5 separate regions of the Homo sapiens genome follow, and all the other regions are linked to region 1. Evidence: promoter capture Hi-C in 16 types of primary human blood cells and fetal thymus (Javierre and others, 2016). All regions are on one chromosome and are shown on one strand. The core of a region is centred on a gene start or on the middle of the fragment in contact, and the rest is flanking DNA. Distances in the headings are between cores, read along the strand shown.

The links. The method cuts DNA at HindIII sites, captures the fragments that hold promoters and counts their contacts. A CHiCAGO score of 5 or more calls a contact.
Region 2: a contact is called between a fragment that was not itself captured here and the fragment with the promoter of G0S2 in region 1, in 1 of 17 cell types (neutrophils). The highest score is 5.2, in neutrophils.
Region 3: a fragment that was not itself captured here is called in contact with the fragment with the promoter of G0S2 in region 1 in 1 of 17 cell types (neutrophils); the score reaches 7.7 in neutrophils.
Region 4: a contact is called between a fragment that was not itself captured here and the fragment with the promoter of G0S2 in region 1, in 1 of 17 cell types (M0 macrophages). The highest score is 9.0, in M0 macrophages.
Region 5: a contact is called between a fragment that was not itself captured here and the fragment with the promoter of G0S2 in region 1, in 1 of 17 cell types (M0 macrophages). The highest score is 5.3, in M0 macrophages.

What each region holds. Positions count from the first base shown.
Region 1 is chr1:209,673,985-209,676,731 of GRCh38, reverse strand. It overlaps G0S2 (G0/G1 switch 2), which reads right to left and starts at 1,320. Exons shown (of 2, transcript NM_015714.4): 1 at 1,183-1,320; 2 at 342-1,079. The coding sequence starts at 1,047. The coding sequence ends at 736. All of the region lies in intron 1 of HSD11B1-AS1 (HSD11B1 antisense RNA 1), which reads left to right. RefSeq lists an enhancer at 360-1,208. The HindIII fragment of the contact is 4,554 bases long and covers 1-1,757 here.
Region 2 is chr1:207,834,210-207,836,956 of GRCh38, reverse strand. No RefSeq gene overlaps it. Among named protein-coding and RNA genes, the nearest start is that of MIR29B2CHG, 13 kb to the right of the region's middle. The HindIII fragment of the contact is 939 bases long and covers 920-1,858 here.
Region 3 is chr1:211,379,419-211,382,165 of GRCh38, reverse strand. It overlaps LOC124904504 (a long non-coding RNA gene), which reads left to right. Exons shown (of 2, transcript XR_007066868.1): 2 at 1-2,747. Among named protein-coding and RNA genes, the nearest start is that of LINC00467, 2.0 kb to the left of the region's middle. The HindIII fragment of the contact is 246 bases long and covers 1,231-1,476 here.
Region 4 is chr1:208,066,356-208,069,102 of GRCh38, reverse strand. All of the region lies in intron 12 of PLXNA2 (plexin A2), which reads left to right. Among named protein-coding and RNA genes, the nearest start is that of LINC02767, 110 kb to the right of the region's middle. The HindIII fragment of the contact is 3,089 bases long and covers 1-2,747 here.
Region 5 is chr1:208,223,244-208,225,990 of GRCh38, reverse strand. The region is part of intron 1 of PLXNA2 (plexin A2); the gene reads left to right. It overlaps LOC105372884 (a long non-coding RNA gene), which reads right to left. Exons shown (of 5, transcript XR_001738428.3): 4 at 1,284-1,342; 5 at 75-287. Among named protein-coding and RNA genes, the nearest start is that of PLXNA2, 20 kb to the left of the region's middle. The HindIII fragment of the contact is 6,580 bases long and covers 1-2,747 here.

The DNA of each region.
Region 1 (2,747 bases), core at 71-2,570:
TGTAAGGAACAAAGAGCTTTTCTGCCTTAGAATTAATCAGTTATCTCCTACTCACTGTAGCTCAGAAGTTGATCTACCTTTTGATGTTAAAATGCTAAATCTCACGGAAGTTATAAAATTTTCTCTCTTCCCACCCCTAACAAGAAGGAAAAACAAGTCCTCAACAGACTTATATGCATGTAGTAACTTATTACACAGTTCCTAGGTGTGAAGCAAGTGTCTGACCCTCAGGAAGCTGCTCCCTCTGCAGTGCTCAGGTAAGAACCCATCACCATCGCCCACCTGCTCACCCTCCCTGCTTCCCACCCCAGGACACCACACCTCTCAGGAATTACATGAGATATGGTATAAAAAGTTTTTTTATTTCAAAATGCAAAATGGTGGTCATTGTAATAATTAATAATAATAACATAAAAAGCATTTATCCTTCCTCCCTAGTGCAAAATGGTAGACGCATTTAGATAATTCACACAGTGTTGGAAATGTCATGACAATGCAGTGCTGCACAGCAGCAAAACTCAATCCCAAACTCCTTTGGTGGATGCTTGTGGTAGGTCAGTTCTAGATGTCAGCGGTTTCTCTGAAGTTAAGTCCAAATAAAAAACAGCACGTGCTCCTGCACTCTCCCAGCGGAGTCAGGCTCCTGTGCGCGCGCCCCCTCTGTCTCTCCATTCCTCTCTCGGTCTGTCTCTGTCTACTGCGTCTCCCTCCCACTCCGCTGGTCTCCCACAGTTCCTAGGAGGCGTGCTGCCGGTTGGACAGGGCCCGGCCGCCGAGGACCGTGTCCTGCTGCTTGCCTTTCTCCTGCAGGGCTTGCTTCTGGAGAGCCTGTCGCTCCAGGGCGGCCTGCAGCTCCGCCACGGCTGCCTCCTGGTCCCGCAGACGTCTGGCGGCCGTGAAGGGGCTGCACACAGTCTCCATCAGGCCGAGCACCACGCCGAAGAGGGCCAGCACGCTGCCCAGCACGTACAGCTTCACCATCTTCCCCTTGCGCTTCTGGGCCATCATCTCCTTGGCCAGGGGGATCAGCTCCTGGACCGTTTCCATCTCGGCTCTGGGCTCTCGGAGGCGGGAATGACCTGCAGGAGGAGCAGCAGGAGAGGGGCTTCAGCCACCAAAGAACGGCTCCCACCACCCCGCACCCAGCTAATCTTGGGGAGGGCTCATAGAAAGGCGGACTACCTTAGTGGCACGGCGCGAGCAGGAGGCAGCGCGAGCTGCAGTTGGCAGCGGTCAGCGCGTCCGTTGGTCCGACCGACCTCAGCGTTCTCCTCCTCTCGGCAGCTGCAGCTCTCCCAGTTGGAGACTCCGCCGCTGGCACCGCTTTAGCGTCCGGGGGCCGCTTATATCTTTTCTCTGAGACACGCCTCCTGGGCTCTCCGGCCCAGGCCAGCGCGGTCAGAGCCAGGGGAACTCGGAGGGGGAGGAAGAAGAGGAGGGGAAAAGGAGGGGGTGGAACCCGGCTGGGACCTGGCAGGAGGTGGCCACGCGCTGAGCACGCTCCGACTGTGTGAGCTAGGGGGCCCGGCGCGGGTGCCATCGCAGCGGGGCGCGTGGGAAGGCCAGTGTGCACGCGAAGGTCCCACTCCAGGCGAGCGCAGGGGAGGACCCGGAGCCCAGGGAGGTGTCCGCGGACATCTCTGACATGGCGGCAACCTTCTTACTGGTGTCAGCGGGTGCACAGCTTCCCTTGTCCAGGACAGCCTGACATTATAAATAATGAGGGAATTTGGGGGTTCCATCTAAAGAAGAAAGCTTTCATTTTTATTCGGAAGGGTTGTCACCTTCCCACGTGTGTGGCAATGGATCAGAGAGGAGAAGGCAAGGGGGAAGGATCTGGGTAACAGGACAGAACAGGTTACGCTTGGATAAAGCAATATGTGCTAATATTGTTTCTTTCCTGCCTGGTTGGTTTTATTTAGAGGTACATGCATGTATAACTAGAGTCAGTTGATAGAAAACTATTCATTGATGGTGCTTTTATGCACAGAGGTGTGTGTGTGTGTGTGTGTGTGTGTGTGAGAGAGAGAGAGAGAGAGAGAGAGAGAGAGAAAGAGAGAGAGATTAGTCTCTTTGCCTGCGAGCTGTTTCCTTATGTACTTCCGTGTATCAGGGAAGAGCCTTCAAATTCAAATTGTTCTCACTTCCACTTGAGAAGTGGAGTTGGGAGCTTGGGGGTAGGGGGTCAAGTATGGAAGGGGCTGTTGGTAGAAGTTCATCTGCCATTTTAGAATGGAAGTATTTCATGCTCTCCTCAATAATTCTCTGCCACCCTCCTGGGTTTGGGGGTACAACTTCACTGCTCCAGCTCAACTTCAGCTTTGAAGCAGTTTGTGGGCAGAAGGGCGTGTAGTAGACAGCTTAGGTAAGAATCCAGAGTGTGAGTACTCTTGGACGTGTGAAGATGTAGGATTGATTTTGACCAGGGTTAGCTGTAATCACCTGGGGCTGAGGGAGCGTTCTAGTTTGGCTTTGGTTATGGATATGCTAGAGTTAGCAAACTTGGGGAAAAAGAGAGGCAAATTGGCCAAAGGGTTAGCAAACTTGGGGAAAAGGAGAGGCAAATTGGCCAAAGGCCTTTAAGCAGAGAAAGGGAGGGGGCAGGGGAAAGAAGGGGAAATCAAACTGGCCAGAAAATTGCAAAGGTCAGTGATGCAATCTTGCAACAGCCTTTGCAGTCGGTCGGACTGAGCCCTGAAGGGCGGGTCGGGGGAAAAGGCTGTCTCAGGGATCAAATATTTTAGTTT
Region 2 (2,747 bases), core at 140-2,639, 1.8 Mb after region 1:
TGGGAGGAAGCCAGAGCCCTGTAAACGGGCTCTCAGCCAGATGGAGAATCTAGTTCTATTCCTCATCTCCCAAAGTGGGGGTCGGTGGTGGTCAGGGCCGTGGGGCCCAACAAGGGCTGCAGGGAGGTAGCCTCTGTCCCTGGTCCTTCTGCAGGCCCCAGGGAGATGGCTGAGTCCTGGAGGTCAGCTGGCCAGCTTCCATTCTGTGCCTGAGCAGGTTACCAATCACCGGGAGGAGGGACGCATTCCACGGTGAAGCTCAGCTTTATCATCTTGGCCAAGGAGCAAAGTTTACTCAGAAAGAGTTCCTGCCATTTTTTAACTTGTTACTTGGTTCTGCATATGAGAGAGAAAAAGGAGATGGGGGAGCCAAGTGTTGGGATGGGTGTGGGAAGGAGGTTAAATGTTGAGATTGGCTTGCTGGGACACATTTCTTATACAAAGGTGATACATGACGACTCTGGGGATAGCCTACAGGTAGGCAGGAAGTGGCCAGTCAGTTGTATCTCAGCATTGTATGATTCCAAAAATGAGGGGTAAACTTGGTATTTCGAATGTTTAGAAGTAGGCCTCACGGAAGTTGTGCTGTGTTTCCTTCCTGTGTTCATCGGCCTGTTTGCCCAGTGGATGGTTACTGGACATGGATGTGCACCATGTGGTGGCTTAAAGGGCTGTAAGACGCAGTCCAGGCCCACGAGAAGCTTCCTAGCAGTGAGGCTGTTTTATAACTGTTCCCAAATCATGTTAGCTCTGGAAGCTATTTCAGGAACGCCTTTGGTTATGAACCGTATCTTATATTTAATTTTGATTCTCTTTTCCCTCCTGTCCTGGATTCAGTAGCAGCATCCACACTGTGTGCCTGGCTGTGTCGTAGGTGTTGGAAGTACTTAGAAGAATTAGGAGGTACTTGGTAAAAGCTTGTTAATTAACTAAAGTGGGGACCTAGAACCATCTCCAAAGAACTTTTGGTCTTCTCTTGTGCAGTCAAGACTCTTCATGTCTCAAAAGGACCCTGAGCTTCTGTCTGGAGCGCATCAGAATCTGTGAAATGCCTGGATCTAGGCCATAAAGTAGAGGGTTTGTCCCCCTCTTTTCCTTGGTTGCTGTATGTTCTTAATAACAGTAAGAGTTTTAGCCCACCGCAGGAGGCACTTGAAGGCATGCAAAGCTCCACCTCTCCACCTACCTCCTAGGGCCCTGGGTGGCACTCCTCTGCTCCTTTCCTTTCTTCTTCTGTTACCGTATCAGGTAAGGCCACTTTCTACTCTTAGTTGAAATTTACAGTTGGTAGCCATGGGGAACCATTAGAGTCTCTGGTCTTTGATTCCCTGGGAGAGGGTGGGTCTGACAGTGGCCTTCCCACCTGTGTGATGAGGACAGCTGATTTCTGTCTCCTTTGTTCTCAGCCTCACATGGGGTCACAGGGAAAAGGAAAACACATAAAAGATCCCCAGGGCTCAGATTTGGGGTTGCACTGTTTTTAGTCCAGAGCCAGCTGTCCTTGGCATCCGTCAGGCAGAGGGGTGAGGTGATTGCTGGTGTTTGTGACACTACAGGTTGAGTGTCCCTTTGATATTTGCTTGGGGACCCTTTCCAGAAGCTGCAGTTAGAAGAGCACATTCTTGTTTGATACATTTAGATCAAAGGAAGGAGAGAGTAGGAGAAACCTCAGAGGACCTGTGTGGGTGGGCAGGGAAGGGATTCACATCAAGTGAGCCCATTTCCAGTGTGTTTGTTGGGGATTTAGGGGTTGTCATGTTGACAGGCCTAATCTAGTCCAATCAGGCAATCAGCAAGTATTGATTGAGTGCTGCTAGAAGTATCGCTTTGGCAAGAATGAAAAAAGAATTTTGAAGCTTGCCTGGACCCTTTCTTTGAAAAGTTCAGACTCTAATTGGAGGCTACAGATGAGCCACGTGTGACATGAGACATGACAGCCTATTATCTTGGCTCTAAATTGTAACAAGGGGTTAAACTGTTGGCATCTGGAGAAGGAAGAACAATCATGGCAAACGTGGGGCCTGCAGGATTGCTGTCTATCTCATCTGGGAAAGAGTGAAGGATACAGGTAGACATATTGCTTAGTCTAGTAGAGTCCATGGGTCTCAGACTCTTGTCCAACATCAAGAGTATCAAAGCACCTTCTCCTTGCTGGAGTTTGGCCACGTGGAAAGAATCTATCCAGCTAACTCTCGAAAAAGGAGCAGGTGAGCATTGGGATTGATTCCCAGCTAAGGGAAATTGAGCAGATTAATGGAGATAATATATGTGAAATGGCTTAGTGTGTGTCATACAGAAATAATTCAACAAAGGCTTATTGGCAGATTCCTAAGCTCAAGACTGAGAGGGTCTGAAGAAGGCACATAGCAAGGTTTTAATTATTGTGTGTATGGGAGGGCTGGGTTGGGAGTTGAGGGGCAGGGGAAGATTAAGCAAGACAGGGAGTGAGGACTCCTAAGGGAGGAAGAAGGTTCTCTGGGAGATCAGAGCCGGCTGCCCTTTGGCCTTCTCAGGCCACTTTTGGAGGGCCGCTCCAGTTCCTGATCTCAATTAGGAGGGAAAATGTCAAACTACTAGTTGAAGTACAGAGCAGAGCTGCTGGCACGTGAAGAGTGGTTAAAAACATGAGACTGCGTGGCCCAGAGAGGTAGAGATTTTGGTGAGAGGGGGTTTGCTAGGTACAGTATTGTGTGCTTAAAGCACTGTCAGGTGATGTGGGTGTCAGAGTTACCCTGTGGTACCTCAGG
Region 3 (2,747 bases), core at 104-2,603, 1.7 Mb before region 1:
GGCTTTTCCCAAGAATCCAGTGCAACACTGAATAGTAGCCGGAGGTACTTATTTCTTACCAGGAGTTATTTTGGATTGCATCTTAGGTTTCATTCAAGATATCTTCTGCAGGTTTATGGTGTGTGTGTGTGTGGGTGTATAGGCAAATTATGTTCTTTTCGTAGTTTACCATATCGGTTTTTTTTTTAATCAGCAAATGACTAAGTTTTACCAAGTATTTTCAGTATCAGTCTTTGAGATGATTGTATGGCCTTTTTTCCATTACTCTACAATAAAATAACTACAATAATAGATTTTCTAATGGTGAGCCAAACTTAGAATCCTGGTATCTTATTTTTTCAATATATTGCTGGATGCAATTTGCTGTGTAGTTAATTTTGGATTTTCATGTATGCACCTAAGTTAGATTGGCTTATGGTTTTCTTTTGCTGTCCTTGTCTAGTTTTGGTATCAGGTTGTGCTAGGAGTCAGACAGGTTAACTTATTTTTGTATGACCTGGAATAGACATAGCATGTGTGAATGATACATTTCTTAGGTTTTGAAGAACTCATCTTTAAAGCCTTCTGGGTGTGGTGCCATCTTAATGGATAGTTTTGTTTTTTATATAGCGTCCATCGTTATTGATACCTAGAATTTTTTCTTTTGCTTCTTGAGAAAATTAGTTTTTTCTAGAAAAGTATTGGCCGGGTGCGGTGACTCACGCCTGTGATCCCAGCACATTGGGAGGCCGAGGAGGGCGGATCACGAGGTCAGGAGATCGAGACCATCCTGGCTAACACGGTGAAACTCCGTCTCTACTAAAAATACGACAATGAAAAATTAGCCGGGCATGGTGGCGGGCGCCTGTAGTCCCAGCTACTCAGGAGGCTGAAGCAGGAGAATGGCTTGAACCCGGGAGGCGGAGCTTGCAGTGAGCTGAGATTTTGCTACTGCACTCCAGCCTGGGGGACAGAGCGAGACTCCATCTTTAAAAAAAAAGTATTTCAGCTATATTTTCTAACATTTAAAAAAATCTCATATTGTTCTCAACCATTCTTATATATTCTTATATATATATTCTTATATATTGTATTGGAGTCTTTTTCTTGATCATATTTATCAAACCAGCTTTTGGTTTTATAGATAAAATCTGTCTTAAAAGTAATTTCTCTTTCATTAATGTATGCCTTCATTAATTTCTTCTTATCTCTTTGGGTTTATTTTGTTCTTTTTATAGAATCTTGGAAGCTTAACTTTCCTTTAAAATGTTTAATATGAAATATTACCAGAATGTACAGTTACAGAAAATAATATAATGAACACTTGTATACCAACCATCTAGCTTTATCCCATTTTAACATTTTCTCTTATTTGCTTCAGATTTTAACATTCAGTTAGAGCTCCTTGTGAAACTGCCTGCAATCTCATTCTCCCTCTCTTCCTCTCTGAAATTAACTACTTCATTGAATTTGGTATCTGTCATTCCCATGAAAGCTTTTATGTATGCTCCAAATACATGTAGCGATGTTAAGTAGCATAAAGTACTGTTTTATGCTTTTTAAACCTAATATAAATGATATGCATGTCACTTACTTTTGCCACCTATAATTATGTATGTAAAATTTATCCAGGATGATTCCTGTAGTTCTAGTTTTATTTTAACTGCTGAATAGTATTCCATTGTATAATTGTACCACCATTTATCCATTCTCCAGTTGCTAGCAATTTCATGATTCCTGATTTCTGTCATTATAACATGAGTTAGTTCTTGCACACAGCTTCTTAGACATATGGTAAGAATTTCCTTAGGATAATGTCTAGAAATGGAATTGCAAGGTGGAAGGGTTTGCACAGTTCAACTTTGATATTGCCAAATTGTTCTCCAGTGGTTGTACTAACTTACCCTCCATCAGCAATGTAGGAGAGCTGCTGTTGCTCCATTCCATGCCAACACAGGTTATTTTTTTGCCCCAGTTTTTTTGTTTTGTTGTTTGGTTTTTTTTTTGCTGTTACCAACTGCTGACAGTAAATTTTCTTGTACATGTTTCCTGGTACACGTGTGCAAGAGTTTCTCTGACTATAAAGCTAATGCAGTTATTAACTCTATTTTGTTTTCGGTATGTTTTTTAAAAGCATGTACATGTCCCCCTCATTTGAGATTTCTCCCTGTTAATACTAACACTTAACTTATTCATAGATATATCTCACTCATTTTTTTCTATGTATCATGCTTCCTGTTCTCTTTACTGCCTTTGGTTTGACAGTCTTTTTTTCCAGTTTTTTTCCCGCTTTAGTGGTTTGAAAGTTATATTTGATTTTTATTCTATGAATAGTAGTTACTCTTCTAACTCATTTAAAGGTGTATCTTTATATATATGTGTGTGTGTGTGTTTAGAATTCATCAGTATCCATATGAGGCAGTCTGTGTAGTGGTTAAGAGTGGAGCCTGTGAGGCCAGACTGCCTGGATTCAGATCCTAGCACTACCACTTATTAGCTGAGTAACCTAGAGCTTATTACATAAACTCTCTGTGCCTCAGTTGTTTCATCTGTAAAGTGGGGATAATACAGCATATACCTCATGAGGTTGTTCTAAGATTAATATGTTAATATATGTAACATTCTTAGGACAGTGCCTAATGCTTGGATCTCTTTACCAGATTTTTCATCTATGGAATGGGCAGAAGACTTGCCTATCAGAGTTGTTACAAAAATTCAGTGCATTAGTGTATTCATTCATTTTAATACACTGAGCACCTGCTGTGCAC
Region 4 (2,747 bases), core at 157-2,656, 1.6 Mb after region 1:
GTGCATGGCCAGGACTTAAACTAGCCACCTTTATACCTGGGCGTGGTCACTGACTGCTCCTGGGGCAGGGTTTAGGGCTGCTAGCCTGAGCTCTCTACCCTAAAGTGTTTCCCTTGTTTTCCTTCTGAATCCTGCAAACGATATACACACTTTTTATTCTACAACCAGTCAATAGATATCAGTGCTCTTAAGGCCAAGTAATAACACAACTTAAAAGTCCCATTAAGACGCAAATACAGCTTTCCGTACTTGCTGTATACAAATACAGAAAGGGAGGAGGGAACAGCTGAATGAAAGGTGCCTAAAGTGGGGGAAAGAACCCCAGGGAGGAAAACACAAAAGAACATGGGAAAGATACCAAATGTTTATCCTCCACTGGGTTTTGCCCAGGGCCAGCCTGGTTAATGGCGTGTGTGACAAGCAAAGGAAGTCATCTTCGCAGGCCCTCCTTACTGCACATCAATCAATCAGGCCTTTGCTGAAGGCACGACCCGAGTGCGGGTCACTACACTCTCAAAAGATGCATAGAAATCCGAGAGTCCACAGAAAAGCATCCAAAATGATCAAAGGGTTTAGAAACCAAGATCTTCGGTGAAAAGGCTGGAAGGACTGCAGAAGCAAAGGCCAGGGGTGACTTAATTGCTGTCTTCAGTAGCTAAAAGATGTTTGATGAGGAGGCAGCTGTTCAGTCCTCCATTCGATGAGGAATCAAACCAGAAATTGGCTTAAATTAAAGCAAGGGAGATTGCAGGAAGAGCTGTTTAATGATCCTGATGTTAAAATACTACATCACTCTCAAGCAACAGTTAGGTACCTCCACTCATCCAGTCATCATTAAAGAATACAGTCTGTTCTAGTGTCTGGTTGAGACCAGCATTTCCTTTTAACAGAGAATTGGGGATATTTATTGACAGTTACTCGTTCCAGGCAGCGTGCTAAGGATTAGTTTCCTAAGAAAAGCTAGATAGTCCCTTGTCCCAAGATAGTTATCGTCTTATTGAGGGAATAAGCAGTTACAATGCAGTGTGGCAATTGTGGTCCTGGAGGTGTTCATAGAAGGAAGTGGGAGGGTAGAAGAAGGGGCTAGTAAATCTACTAAGGGAGTCCAGGGAGGCCTCCCTGAGGAGGCATCTTTTGAGTAGAGACTTGAGGATGGGTAGGCATTTGTCAGTGGACATGCTTGACCAGCACAGGGAACAGCATGTCAAATGCATAGAGGCTTTACACCCTATAAAGCTATAGCTGTGGGGGCCCTTGAGCTCTCCCAGCGAGCACATGTACAGTCATGCATCGCTTAACCATGGGGATACATTCTGACAAATGTGTCATTAGACGATTTCATCCTTGTGTGAACATCATGGCATGTATTTACACAAACCTAGACAGTGTACCCTACTACACACCTAGGCTGCAAACCTGTACTGCATGTGACTGGTCCTGAACACCATGGGCGATTGTAACACAATGGTAAGTACTTGTGTATCTAAACATAAAAATGGGATGGTAAAAATATGATATAAAAGATTAAAAATGGTACGCCATATAGGGTATTTACCATGAATGGAGCTTGCAGGACTGGAAGTTGCTCTGGGTGAGTTCAGTGAGTGGTGAGTGAATGTGAAGGCCTAGGACGTTACTGTACACTACCATAGACTATAAACACAGTATGCACTTAGGCTACACTAAATTCATTAAAAAATTGTTTCCTTCTTTAATTATAAATTAACCTTAGTTATTATAACTTTTTTTTTTTTTTTTGAGACGGAGTTCCACTCTTGTTGCCCAAGCTGGAGTGCAATGGTGCGATCTCGGCTCACTGCAACCTCTGTCTCCCGGCTTCAAGTGATTCTCCTGCCTCAGCCTCCCGAGTAGCTGGGATTACAGGCATGCAACACCAAGCCTGGCTAATTTTGGATTTTTAATAGAGACAGCGTTTCCCCATGTTGCTCAGGCTGGTCTCAAACTCCCGAACTCAGGTGATCCGCCTGCCTCGGCCTCCCAAAGTGCTGGGATTACAGGCATGAGCCACTGCGCCCGGCCAGTTACTATAACTTTTTACTTTATAGACTTAATTTTTTAACCTTTTGACTCTTTGTAATAACACTTACCTTAAAACACATACATTGTACAGCTGTACAAAAATATTTTCTTTCTTTATATCCTTATTCTATAATATTTTTTCTATTTTTGAAATTCACTTTTTTACTTTTTAAATTTGTTTTGTTAAAGACTAAGACACAAAGACACACATCAGCCTAGGCCTACCCAGGGTCAGGATCATCCATATCACTGTCTTCCACCTCCTTATCTTGTCCCACTGTGAGGTCTTCAGGGGCAATAGCATGCATAGAGCTGTCGTCTCCTATGATGACAATGCCTTCTTCTGGAATCCCTCCTGAAGGTCCTCCCTGAGGCTGTTTTCCAGTTAGCTTTTTTTAAATAAGTAGAAGGAGTACACTCTAAAATAACAATAAAAAATATAGTGAGTACATAAACCAATAACCTAGTCATTTAGCATCATTATCAAGTATTATGTGCTGTACATAATTGTATATGCTAGGCTTTCCTATGACTTATGACTGCCACAATGCCACAAGGTGGTAGGAATTTTTCAGCTCCATTATGATCTTAAAGAACCATCGTCGTATATATGGTCCGTCATTGACCAAAACGTCAATATGCAGCACAAGACTGTAGTCCATAAGAGGACAGGGCCAGGACTCTGGGGGTCCCAAGTGTGAGGGGCG
Region 5 (2,747 bases), core at 175-2,674, 1.5 Mb after region 1:
GAAGTTTGAGTGCCTTTCTCCTCCCTGTTGTATTAGTTTGCCAGGGTTGCTGTAACAAAGTATCACAGACCAGGTGGCTTAAATAACAGAAATTTATTTTCTCCAAGTTCAGAAACTGGGAAGTCCCAGATGAGGATGTGGGCAGAGTTGATTCCTTCTGATGGCTGTGAGGGAAGGAGCTGTTCCAGACCTCTCTTCTGAGCTTGTAGATGGTCAGATGAGGATGTGGATGTCTCTTTACATCACCTGGCCTCTGTGAGTGTCTGTCTCAGGCTCCACATTTCCCCCTTTTTATAAGGACACCAGATCACACCGCATTAGAGCCTACCCTAGTGACCTCATCTTAACCTGATTACCTCTGTAGAGACCCTGTCTCAGGGACGGGTGCCATGGCTCACGCCTGTAATCCCAGCATTTTGGGAGGCCGAGGCTAGAGGATCACTTGAGCCCAGGAGTTCAAGACCAGCCTGGCTAGCATCATGAAACCTCATCTCTACAAAAATAAAAATAAAAATTAGCCAGGTGTAGACAGGTGCCTGTGGCCCCACAGATCCCTGTGGTTCCTAGGGCTGATGTGGGAGGATGGTTTGAGTCCAGGAGATGGAGGCTGCAAGGAGCTGAGATCGCGCCACTGCACTCCAGACTGGGAGACAGAGCGAGACCCCGTCTCAAAAAAACCAAACCAAAACAACAGTAACAAAAGACACCGTCTCAAATAAGAACACATTCTGAGGTACTTAGGGTTAGGCTTCAACACAGGAATTTCCAGGGGACACAATTCAGCCTTTAACTCAATCCCTCGCTTTCTTGCTAGTATCCAGCCCCTGCACTTGTGCCCCATTACCCTGCCTCTGTTCACCACTGCAGAGATGGAGGGTCCCTCACTGTCACGCACATATGTAAGATCTAAGGGCCTTGTCCAAAGCTGAGAGCCGCACGCAGCTCCCCTCTCACAGCCCCTGCTGCCTCACCGCCTGGAGTATGGGTTCTTTCCTTATTACTGATCGAGATTTTGAGAGCCTCCCCAAATTTCCATCTCTTACTCCTTGGTTATTGGAGCGTGGATGTAGTTTATCCCACCTGTGAAACGAATCGCATATATGAAGATAAGCAGGAGATCCACCTTCTCATAGTAAGAGAGGGTGACTGGGTAGAAATTGTCACCCAAATTTGTCTTGACACCTCCTGGAGGGGCCACAGTGTCATCTGTGTCACCTTCTCAGAGAAGGCTGCCAAGGGTACATGCAGGCAGAGACCTATTTTCCTCCCCTCTCTCCTCTCACCTTCCTTCTTCACTCTGGGGCAAGGTATAGCCACTTCGCTTCACATAACCGCACAGAGTCTAGGGAAAAAATGACATTCGATTAATGAAGCAAACGCAGCTGGTACAGAAGTGACATCTAAATTGTTCCTTTGGTCCCGCTATTTTCCATAGGAAATTCTTTCTCTCCTCACCCCCCTCCCCCTTTTCCCTTTAAATCGCGTGCATAAAATATACTAATAACAATCTTCGGTGTCTGTGCATGAGTGACAGCTGAAATAAGAAAAAGACTAATCGTACCTCCTGCAGCCCTGTCACATGGAGATTAAATGAGTCTCTCTCCCCACCCTCTCCCTGCTCCCCACCCCCTCACCCCCACTCTCTCCTCTCTCTTGGTTCTCAATGAGAATCATGGGCATTTGAATAATAATATTATAGACGCCATCAGAGTGACAGTGGGGAAAAAATCAGCTCAAACCCATGATTATTCCTTCACTCTAATAATTATTTAAATACCAGATAACTCCTTTCACTCTAATTGAGGACTTTCAGCCGTCGGCATTACCCGGGGCTTTTGCGTTCGCCCTCTTGCTCACCTTGTGCTACCCAACGTGCCTGGACTACCTCTAAGGTCGGTGTTAGACAGAGCGATGCTCAGAATGCTTGCACGTACAGCTGCACAAGGGATATGAAGACAGGTCCTTCAGTAGCATTCCACCCACGGGGAAAAGATGGGGCCTCAGACTCTCACATTTAGACAATTTTATTCTCACAGAAATCTTAAACCAAAAGGAGCCTTCTGAGATCATTGGGACCAATCCCCTGCCTCTAGGTAAACTGATTCCTAGGCAGCTTCCAGGAAAATTCAATATCAGAAAATTTCAGAATCTCCTTGGCAGGATGCTCTGCAGATCCTCTCTAGGCAGAATGTCCCCCTTAATATCTAACTTTAATCCCTTCTGCTGTAGCTCTAACTCTTTGGGAAGAAGGAGCTTTCTGTGCATAGACTAAATCTGACCTGTCCGTGGGGTTGTGGCAGAGGACACCATAGCCCCCAAGTTACAGCATAGGTGACGGTCCTGAGTGTGACATTTGCCTGGGCCTGCCTGGGCCTAGAAGAGGACAGAAGCAATCATTCTCCCCAAGGGGGAAAGGAGCCATTCGGACATGTGTCTTTCTTTCATTCTGCCCCTTAATCCGCCCCTCTTTGAATCTGCCCTGAGCACCACCTCGTTGTCCAGGCCCAATGCCACACTCACTTCTGCGTATCATGGGGCTATTATCAAAGGCATCCACTTTCCCGAAAACAGGACAGCCTGAAGGCAAAACGTAACTAACTCCCAGGACCCTTCCACCTACAATGGAGGAAGCGCCTGCCTTTTTGTCATGAGGTCTGGGTTCTGACTGCAGCCTGTTTCTGACTCACTTTGAGTCGCCCTGGTCAATTTGTTTCCTTTCTGTGGGCTGTGGTGTCTTTCATATTAAA